2 separate regions of the Homo sapiens genome follow, and region 1 is linked to region 2. Evidence: promoter capture Hi-C in 16 types of primary human blood cells and fetal thymus (Javierre and others, 2016). All regions are on one chromosome and are shown on one strand. The core of a region is centred on a gene start or on the middle of the fragment in contact, and the rest is flanking DNA. Distances in the headings are between cores, read along the strand shown.

Region 1 (5,567 bases), core at 223-2,722, 140 kb before region 2:
GAAATTTGTATTGTTGGGCCCATCCCAGAGACAAGGTAGGAAGCAATTATGTTAATCCCAGGGCAAGGGGATGGTGACTAGCCCCAGGTGAAGGTGGTGATGATTATGGTATGAAAAGGGCCAGGAGAATTTGCTGATAGGTTGTTTGAGAGGAGAGAGTCAAGGGAGACGCTAAAGTTTCTGGCCTGAGCTGGAGTAGCAGGGGGAAGCGTAAGGGCGGTGTGGGTTTGTGGAATCAGGAGTTCTCGTCCTGATTTCTCTCCTATATTACAAAGCTCCGTCTCAGGCCTCCTGGGACTGGTGGGGACAGAGGGAGTATGGATATCTGGGATCCACCTGGCCTCACCAGCTTTTCTGACCTGCCAGGATCGACCCTTCGAGGACACCTGTCATGGAAACCCCAGCCACTACTATGACAAGGCTGTCAGGAGGTGCTGTTACCGCTGCCCCATGGGTGAGTGGGGGCGTTGGGGGTGGGGAGAAGGGGGGAAATTTGTCCTCAATTGATGACCCTCTTGGGGGATTGATGAGTGGGGAAATTGGAGCCAACCGTCATCGTCATAATTGGCTACAGTTTTCTGCAGGTCATTCCTAGTGTCGCGGAGTCCAAGGACTCTCTCGGAAGGCTAGGGCTGTAGAATTGAGACTGTGTTTCTTGCTGCCACCAGAATGTCCATCTCCATGAGTTTTTATTTTTAACGTAGAGCTGCCCTTTATTGGACACTTACTATCCATGAGTCCGAGACCTTTATATGCACGGCATCATCTCATTAAGTGCTTGCAATGATCCTTTATTACACTCAATTTGCAGATGAGGCTACTGGGGCTTGGCAGGGTTAAGTTCCAGCTACTTCCCTTGATGACCAGGGTCACACAGTTGGGAAATGGTGGAATGATCAGGGCTGGGGCCCAGGGCTCAGAGACCTCAAAGCCTGGGCTGTCAACATCCTCTGACCACCCTTCATTTCTGGGGCCCAGAAGTCCTTTGCAGTTCTTTCTTTTCTCTCTTATTTTTATTTTTATTTTTTTTGAGATGGAGTTTTGCTCTTGTTGCCCAGGCTGGAGTGCAATGGTGCAATCTCGGCTCACTGCAACCTCCACCTCCCGGGTTCAAGCGATTCTCCTGACTCAGCTTCCCAAGTAGCTGGGATTACCGGCATGCACCACCACACCTGGCTAATTTTGTATTTTTAGTAGAGACAGGGTTTCGCCATATTGGCCAGGCTGGTCTCAAACTCCTGACCTCAGGTGATCCACCCGCCTCAGCCTCCCAAAGTGCTGGGATTACAGGCATGAACCAACGTGCCCGGCCTAATTTTTTTATATTAATTTAAAATAGAGACAAAGTCTCGCTATATTGCACAGGCTGGTCTTGAGCTCCTGGGCTCAATTAGTCCTCCTGCCTCAGCCTCCCAAAGCACTGGGATTACAGGCATGAGCCTCCATGCCTGGCCTCTTTGCCGTTCTTGACTGCCCCAGCTCAGGACAGGTGTTTATCCTGGGACAACCTGGACAATAGATTTCTCTGAGACCAGTCTCCCAGACCAGAGCTCCCTTTCTGGAATGTTCCCCCACCCCCAGCACCGTGATTGACTTCTAGTCAATTACCAGGAAATCCTTCTGGAGCTGGGGTGAGTGTTGTTCCTTCCATTTTGTAGATGATGCTTAGGCCCGAGGAGATAAGCAGCTGGAATAGGGTCATGAGGCATTTCTGCCCCTGTGGTTATTATCAAAAGTCCCAAGGCACCACCAGTGGTCTTAGATGGGCGGGGCAGGACATAACGATGCCCTCGTGGTCTCTGACCTCCAGGAACAGAGATTGTCACGGGGACATCAGCCTTTAGCTGTGCCAGCAAGGGTGGGAGGGAGTCTGTGTGTGTCTGGTTCATCATCGCCACTTCTTGCTTTGAGGACAGCAGGCCATTGCAAGTGGGCGGGCATCGTCTGGAGGGCTTCCGACAGTGGGGGCGGAGGGGCCCATCCACCCAGCTGTACTGTCTGGAGGGTGGTGACAGGTTATGGCCATCAGGGCTATTCCACTGGAGCTGCGCGGGAACCCAGGTCAGTCAGTTCCTAGACTTGTGGCCTCAACTCCCCCATGAGATGCAGACCAGGCTCGTGCTCAGGCCACCAAAGGACAGAGGGAAACATTCTTGGAAAGAATTTGATGTTTTTGTATTTGATTTTGATTTGTATTTCCAACAATGATTCAAAGTATTCATTGTATGGGCAAAAGTAGTGGGTTGGATGCTATTGGACTTTCTTGCTTTTATTTTTGGTTTAGTGTTGATTTTGAATGATCTATTAGGTGGGTCCCCTGGTTTTTTCAGTGCTTCACTGGTCGGCCATCCACCCACCCATCCAAGTACCTGCCCCCCTCACCCACCCACCCATCCAAGTACCTGCCCACCCACCCATCTTTTTAACCACTCACCAACCCACCCCTCCCATCCCCTTTCCATTTTTCTTCCCATCTAGCCACTATCCATCCATCCATCTGTATTAGTTTGCTGGGGCTGCCATAACAAAATACTGTAGTCTGGGTGACCTAAACAATAGACATTTATTTCTTACAGTTCTGGAGGCTTGAAGGTCCAAGATCAAGGTTTTTGGAGGATTTGGTTTCTGGTGAGGGCTGTCTTCTTGGCTTGCAGATGGCAGTCTTCTCATGGTGGGAAGATCGATCTCTCTCTCTCTTTCTCTCTCTTTCCCCCTCTTCATATATGCCACCAATCCCCCTGGATTAGGGCCCCATCCTTATGACCTCATTTAACCTTAATTATCTCCTAAAAGTCCTATCTCCAAATACAGTCACACTGGGGTTAGGGTTTCAACACATTTAACATATGAACTTTGTGGGGGACACAATTCAGTCCATAGCACCATCGCCTTCCCATATCCCTCCAATTATCCTCCCATTCACCGCCCCCATCCATACACCCACCCCTCTCCTGGCCATTTTCTCATCTACCTTTCTATCCATCCATCCATCCATCCATCCATCCATCCATCCATCCATCCATCCATCCATCATCCATCCAACAAATTTTTATTTCTCTCTCTCTCTCTTTTTTTTTTTTTTTTTTTTGAGATAGAGTCTGTCTCTGTAGTCCAGGCTGGAGTACGGTGGTGTGATCTTGGCTCACTGGAACCTCCGCCTCCTAGGTTCAAGCAATTCTCTTGCCTCAGCCTCCTGAGTAGCTGGGATTACAGGCATGTGCCACCACACCCAGCTAGTTTTTGTATTTTTAGTAGAGATGGGGTTTCACCGTGTTGGCCAGGCTGGTCTTCAACTCCTGACCTCCAGTGGTCTGCCCGCCTTGGCCTCATAAAGTGCTGGGATTACAGGCATGAGCCACTGTGCCAGGCCTAGTTTCTGGGCCTTTGGACATGCCTGTCCCCATGTGGGATGCCCTCCCCTCCGTCCCTACCTGCTGCAATTCTGGAACCCCTTCCTCCATGAGGCCTTCCCTTGCTAGCCTGATGGTTGGTGGTGGTTCCCACTCAGTTCTCTCAGGGCCCGCTTGCTGTGGTTTTTATCCTCTGGAATGGAGTGGCCCACAGTGTTCTATGACTTTTCATGGGACCCACAATCCCAGCCACAAGGAGAAAGACACTTCCTTCTCATCCTCTTCTGGCCCCTTTGACTCCAGCCTGAAAGGGCCTTGATGGGGAGTGGGTGGAGAGAAAAATGACATCTCAGGTCCCAGGCTCCCTCCACTTAAAAGCTGTGACTTAGGAAGAGGGGGCTCCCTCCTCCCCACTTCCCCTCTCTAAGGCCCAGTGCTGGCTGGGGCTGAATACTCCATATTGGTGTGGTGGGTGGGGCATTTTACTGGTGTTTTATTGACCTTGTGCTTCCGTGTAGCCAGAGAAGAAAAAAGAAAAACCCACAAAAACCCCTTCTTTGATCTCTCGGGGAAATTTCTTGACATTTTGCCTGCCCTGTGCAGCCAGCACTCAGCTGTGTGGCCGGGTTTGCTTGTGGGCGGGTTGGTGGAGGAAGGAAGCTGAGGGACCTTTGAGATTGAAAAATGTAGATGTCATCGAATCCCTCCTTGCACCCAGGCCTGTGATGCCCTCTCCAGCATTCCTGAGAGCAGGTCCCCAGCCCTTTGCTTACATACTCTTGGTGACGGGGAGCTCATTCACTGACTCATAACAATGACCACGATTCATACCGATGGAGCACGCTATGTGCTGGCCACTGTGCTGGGCCCTTTACCGACCTTAAGTTCCTTCAATCCTGATAAGAAATCCAGAGAGGAAACTTGGACACCGAGGGGTTCAGGAATTTGCACAAGGCCACATGCGTATCAGTGGCTCAGCCGGGCCGTGAACATGACCACCGAGTGCAGTCTCCTGAGCTCTTCAACTGTAGTTGATACTGACCCTCAAGGCCTCGAATTTGGGAGGCAGAAGAGTTTACGAGTGAAGAGCTAATGCGGGGGCTACAAAGCCCTTCCTGTTCTCCATCTTCCTGGACTACCCTCTCTTTGTGTGCAGACTCGCTCCCCACAGGAAGGGGTCTCTCCTGCAGATGTTTGAGGCCTGCCCAGGTTCAGGGGAAGGATGTGAGGCCAGGCCAAGTGTTAGGTAGGGAGCATGGCAGGTGTATCCCATCTTGTCCCAGGAGCTGAGGGTTCCTCCGAAGGCTGTGAACAGGAAGGAGGAGGAGGAGGGGGTTTGTGGGTTCCCCCAGCTTCCGCTGCCCTTGGGTAAAGCTCAGCTTTGTGCATGGGCACGCCCATTTGGCATGACAGCTGCTGCCCCTGCCGCCTCCCCCTCCCCCGCCCAGTCCCTCTTCATCCTGGGCTTCAGCTGAGTGTGCTGGGCTCCCCTGTGCCCTCTGACACTGTCCCAGCAGAGCCCCCTCACAGCACCTCCTGGCCCCCCACTGTCCCTGTGTGCTTGACTCACACCTCTGCATTCCTCAGGGTCCACTTAAGTGTAGGCCCTCCCTGACCCCAGCCTGGGCCACAGAGCGAGATTCTATCTCGAAAAAAAAGAGAAATAAACATTTGTTGGATGGATGGAGGGATGGCCCTCCCTGACCCCAAGCCAGCTCAGAGGTCTTGGCTCTGGGCTCTTGGTGCCTCCCATGGTTCCACTTTCCTAACACTCCTTCCATGTGTCATGACTTGTCTATCGTCTTCCTGCAGGATCCCCAGCCCTGACCCCAGGGCTTGGCACATAGTAGAGTCTCAATTTTTGAAAGAATAGGTGAATGAATGAATATGGCTAACTTGCCCCGCATACTCTTCTGTGACAGCCAGCCATTGCCTCACAGGGCCAAGCTTCCATTGTCCCCCTGGCACCTCCCTCTGCTGAAGTCAGACCAGCCTCTCTCTCCTGTCCATCCCACTCGCAGGTACATCCTAGTCTTTTCTTTAAGCCTGAAAAATCCACCAGGGTTCTTTTGTATAGGAGGAAGTATGTGGGCGTGGAAGGGAGGAAATGGAAGGCAGTAGAAGGAAATAGGACTGGCCCAATGCAGCAAGCATTTATTGAGCTCTGTTGGATATAGGGTTATTTGGGGGAGAGAAGGACAAGGTCCTGCCTCCTGG
Region 2 (5,399 bases), core at 570-3,069:
GGGCCATGTGCATTTCTAACAAGCTTCCCAGGTACAGCCAATTGTCTGTGCTAGGTGATCTGGACTTCGAGGTCCTTCACCTCTGAAGGACTGCCTTCCTTCCTCCTTCTGTCTGTGGAGTTCCAGGTTTTACTCCCAAACCTCAGCCCCAGAGGAGACCCAGCATCCAGATTCTGAGAGGTTGATCCCACCATACAGGAACCCCAGTCTTGCTCAGGAGTGAGTCAGCCCAACATGCACCCTCATTAGCTTAGCATCATGAGGGTTGGTAATTATTATGGTAAATACATGATTGTAACCTTGCCGTTCTGCTTCCTGCATCTTCTAATTTATATGAGCCTGAGGTCTCCCTCTTGCCCTTCTTGTGATAATGCAAGGAGGAAGTGTTCAGCTGTTCATTCATACACACTCATTGAGTCTTTTCTGTGCTAGGCAATGTCTAGGTGTTGAAGAAACACTGTGAAAGGGATAAAATCTCTGTTTTCAAGGTACTGGGGAAAGAACAACATATGTATAAACAAACAAGATAATCTCAGGGAGTATTAGGTTCCATGAATAAAATACAACAGGGTAATGGATAATGGAACTTTATTTTTATTTTCATTTTTGAGAGGGAGTCTCACTCTGTCTGGAGTGCAGAGGGGTGATCTCGGCTGACTGCAACCTCCGCCTCCCGGGTTCAAGTGATTCTCCTGCCTCAGCTTCCCCAGTAGCTGGGACTACAGGTGTGCACTACCACGCCCGGCTAATTTTTGTAGTTTTAGTAGAGATGGGGTTTCACTATGTTGGCCAGGCTGGTCTCAAACTCCTGACTTCAGTGATCCGCCCGCCTCAGCCTCCTGAAGTGCTGGGATTACAGGCATGAGCCACTGTGCCCAGCTCATAATGGAACCGTAGATAGGCACAAGTCCTCTCTGAGTGGAATATTTGAAGCCAGAGGGAGTCAGCTATACGAATATCCAGAGCTATTCTGTAGCTCTGGATTGGCCACAAGAGGGTATTGAGCACTGGAATTCTGGCTAGTTTGTACTGAGATGCGCAGTAAATGTAAAATATACCCGAATTTCAAAAACTTACTATAAAAAAGTTAACATATTGTATTAGTAATTTTTTCTTTTGGCGACATGTTGAGATGATCATATTTTGAACATATTGGATTAAATATATTAAAATGAAGTTCATTTTCTTCTTTTTCGTTTAAAAAAAATGTACTAGCTAGTAAATGTGGATTGCCTATGTGGCTGGCATTGTGTTTCTATTGGTCTGAGGAGAAGGGTCCTAGGTAGAGACAACGGCAAAGGTACAGTTCCTGGGGCAGAAACTGAAGGATGCTGAGGCAGAGTCGGCCGGGGAAAAAGTGGCTGAAATGGGAAGGGACCAGATCCAGTGGGACCTTGGTGGCAGCTCTGTAAGGAGGTGGGTTTTAACTGAAGTACGGTGGGGACGCCGTTTTAAGCAGGGAAGGGCAGGGTCTGAATTAACAGGCCCCTGTGGCTGCGAAGTGGGGAACGGACTGTGGGTGAGTGGGCCAGACGGACGGCCAATCGCACCTTTCGCTTGGATGGAAGGCAGGGTGGTTGTAGGTGGGAAGAATCCTGGGTTCCCATGCTGTCTGAACCAGAGTCATTTGTGGCCCTGCCCTCCCCTGGGACTCAATTTCCCCACCTATAAAATAAGCCCCAGTGTCCGCGAACCCTGGAGGGGCCCGCACCACTGCAGGAGCGGCCGCCGGCGCCAGGGGGCGCCTCCTCGATAACTCGGCGCTCGGCTGGCCAGGCACCGGCGCGTCGGCCGCTCGATTGGTCGGGTCGGGGCCGGCCTGAGCGCCGCGGGCCTGCGCCATTGAGGAGCGGCGGGGAGGAAACGCCGCGCAGCGCCGGGCTGGGGCGGGCGGCCCGGGACACCGACAGGTAGGGGCCGAGCGGCTCCGTGCCGGGCGGGGCCAGGGTCGGGAACTGCAGGGCCGGCGCGGACCCGCGGGCCGCCGCTAGGGCTCCGCCTGGACATGGGGGCCCGGGCCCACCCTGGGGAGAGCGATGCTAGGAGCCTGGGGGCCCCGTCGTCCGGCCTCGGTCTGAGCCCCTCGGGGTAACCCTGGGCGTCTGCTCCCCCCGGGCCCCAAGCCCGCCACCTCCGGGGACCCCTGCGTCCGAGTCCCCGCGAGCTCCCCAAGCACAGGCTCGGGGCTGGCTGAACCTCTGGGAACCCCGACGTCCGTGTCCTGGGGAGCCCGAGCCCCCGCTGGACCCCGGCACACTTTCCGGGGTCCCAGCAGCCTGGCGCCCTGGAATTGGGGGGTGTCAGTCCGCGCCTGTCCGCCTGAGCCTTGGTCTCAATGCAGGACCCCAGTGTGCGAGCCCCCCACATTACGCCGAAGAGTGGGGTGTCAGTTCTCTAGAATGCCTTAGCCACCTCCCTTAATCAGCCACCCGAGGTCACACTCTCGCGTGGAGACATCAGGCCTAAAACCTCTCTTTACCTTTTGCCCCCCAGGGTCACGCCCTGGCCCAGCCACTCCTCCTAGGTGTGGGATGCCAGACATCAGGCCTAAAACCTCTCTTTACCTTTTACCCCCCAGGGTCACGCCCTGGCCCAGCCACTCCTCCTAGGTATGGGATCCCGGCGCCGTTCCCTCCAGGTTTTACTTGGGTGGTGGGGTCTCTGTCCCCTGGAGGGGGCTGAGGGTTCCGAGAGCTGGGGGCGGGAGGGTTGTGGGAGCGTCGCCTTCCGGGCAGTGCCGTTCCTGTGGGGCCACCGGTCGCACAGCCGTCCCCGCCCCGGTTTTGGAGCTCCCTGGCGCCGGCAGCGTTCAGCCCTGGCCGCCTCGGGGAGGGACGCCCAGGTCCGGTTGCCAGTCCTTCCTATTCCCGGTCTGGCCGCTCCTCAGGGGAGGGGCCTGGCTCAAGGTCATGCCCGGCTGTCTGCCCGCCCGTGGGCTCAGCACTGATCCCTACTGTCACCCGCCCCACTGGGTAGGGGAGCCCAGGTGGGGGTTAGTGCCAGTGCCAGGCAGCTGCCTAGAAGTCCTGATGGACCGGAGTGTAAACACTTTGGGACTCTGGCCAGTCTGGCGGCCCTTGCTGACACTGAATTCCTTCAGGGAATCCTTGAAGTGGCCTCAAGCACGGTCTAGATGCTTAGCAGAGCAAATAATGGGTGCTTTCTGGTTTGGGCCTCAATGTTACTGACCAGGTTGCCTCACAATGCTAATCACTCATGCTTTTAAAATCTGTGCTTTGCATTCTTTTCCGTTTAGGGCAAGTAGGGTAGGGCCTGAACTTGTTTACAAACTGACAGTTGTTTCCCTTGATTTGGAGATAATTGGTAATTGGCACTCAGAGTTGGCATTTAGGGCCGAAATTAGTGGCAATAACTACAAAAATAAAGAGTACTCTGACCTTGGCTTCTTGCTCAAATTTGTTTGGAGTCCCCATAGTAAGATTAGTCAGTTTCACATTTGGTTTTCACAAATTTACTCCTTTCAAGTTATAATAGTGGCCGGGCACGGTGGCTCACGCCTGTAATCCCAGCACTTTGGGAGGCCAAAGTGGGCAGATCGCTTAAGGTCAGGATTTCAGACCAGCCTGGCCAACATGATGAAACCCTGTCTCTACCAAAAATACAAAACTTAGCCGGGGATGGTGGCAGGTGCCTGTAATCCCAGCTACTCAGGAGGCAGAGGTAGGAGAATCGCTTGAACCCAGGAGATGGCGGTTGCAGTGAGCCGAGATCCGAGATCCCGTCACTGCACTCCAGCCTGGGCGAGGGAGCAACACTCTGTCTCCAGAAAAAAAAGTTACAATAGAGAAATGTTTCTTTTATTCAGACTGTTGAGCATTTTTTTTAAAAAATTGTTCTTATAACATCTTCTTTAAACAAATGTAGCTAATAATTAGTTTTATGTAACTCTACCCTTAAAAAATATCTTTATATTCCATTTGCAGAAAAAAAAATCTTTGGAAAGAAATTGGTCAAATATTTTACCAAATGCTGTTTTTTTCTTTTTGCTGTCACTGTTGACCAATAAAAGTTAATCTTCTCTGGAAGTACAAGATATTGTTGACAAACAAAAGCCAGTTTTTCCAGGAGATTGAATTCATTCTTGTGGAGGCCTTGTGCTTCAGGTAGTTGTTGGATGGCAGCCTCTCAGTTGGGATAGGTGTATCTTCTGGCACTAAGATGAATCACTAGAGGTGGGGCAGCGTGCTTGGAGAGGATCCTGAAAGTAGGCTGGCTCCAGTGGGATGCGTGCCATGGCAAGTCTGTAGTGCCTGGCAGGGTGGCTGATGACTGACATGGTGGATCAGAACAAGATTTGAGGCTCACAGTTTCCACTGGGATCTTCTAGTTGAGCAATCTCAGAACCCAGTTAAACTTTTGTGTCTCAGTTTCCCTCATGTTGACTTTTTGTAATACTAAAATTAGTCTTTTTTTTTTTTTTTTTTTTTTTTTGGTAATACTGGTAAACACCAGTTATTATAACAGGCAGTAGTACCTACAAAATCTAAATACCGTGGCTGGAGCCAGAGGATTTCTGGAGTTTGGGGTTTGTAATAATCGACTAAGATTGTTCATTGTATCAGCGTCATCTGGTGCCCAGGTACCAGTAATGCAGTTCCAGGACATTTAAGAACAGTGATAAAGCACTGTCGCCTCTCTCCCATGTATATTATTTTATAAGTGATCCTCATGAACAAATTTGAGACATTTAATTTGGGCGGCCTAAATGAGGATCATTAAAGAATGTGAATTCTCCCCCCACCCCCAACTTTATTCAGGTTTGTTTCATGAGTTTCTTTTTCTTTTTTTTTTTGAGATGGAGTCTCACTCTGTCACCCAGGCTGGAGTGCGGTGGTGTGATCTTGGCTCACTGCAACCTCTGCCTCCCGGGTTCAAGGGATTCTCCTGCCTCAGCCTCCCGAGTAGCTGGGATTACAGGTGCCTGCCACCATGCCTGGCTAAGTTTTGTATTTTTGGTAGAGACAGGGTTTCACCATGTTGGCCAGGCTGGGTTTGGACTCCTGACCTCAGGTGATCCACCTGCCTCGGCCTCCCAAAGTGCTGGGACTCCAGGCGTGAGCCACCACCCCCGGCCTCTTTCATGAATTTCATTCAGACAATCTCTTACGGCATTTTCTGTCTTAATCTAGGATAAGGTTTCTTAACATTGGCTCTGTTGACATTTGGGTTGGATAATTCTTTGCTGTGGGAGCTGTCTTGTGTGTTGTAGGTTTAGCAGCTTCCGTGGTCTTTATTCACAAGATGCCAGTAGCAGCCCCTAAGTCATGATAAAAAATGCCTCCAGAGATTACTAAATTATGCCCATAGGAGAACCTCTGATCACGGCAGTCTAATCCCAAGGTAAATCAACATAAGCAAGCAATGGACAGTTACACTGA

What was found. The method cuts DNA at HindIII sites, captures the fragments that hold promoters and counts their contacts. A CHiCAGO score of 5 or more calls a contact.
Region 1: a contact is called between a fragment that was not itself captured here and the fragment with the promoter of VPS13D in region 2, in 2 of 17 cell types (activated CD4 T cells and naive CD8 T cells). The highest score is 6.1, in activated CD4 T cells.

The regions. Positions count from the first base shown.
Region 1 is chr1:12,084,098-12,089,664 of GRCh38, forward strand. TNFRSF8 (TNF receptor superfamily member 8) reads left to right here. Exons shown (of 15, transcript NM_001243.5): 2 at 367-454. Among named protein-coding and RNA genes, the nearest start is that of TNFRSF8, 24 kb to the left of the region's middle. RefSeq lists enhancers at 3,543-3,652, 3,673-4,012. The HindIII fragment of the contact is 7,646 bases long and covers 1-5,295 here.
Region 2 is chr1:12,228,211-12,233,609 of GRCh38, forward strand. VPS13D (vacuolar protein sorting 13 homolog D) reads left to right here and starts at 1,820. Exons shown (of 70, transcript NM_015378.4): 1 at 1,820-1,910. RefSeq lists an enhancer at 1,569-2,499 and silencers at 1,645-2,174, 1,711-1,879. The HindIII fragment of the contact is 6,412 bases long and covers 22-5,399 here.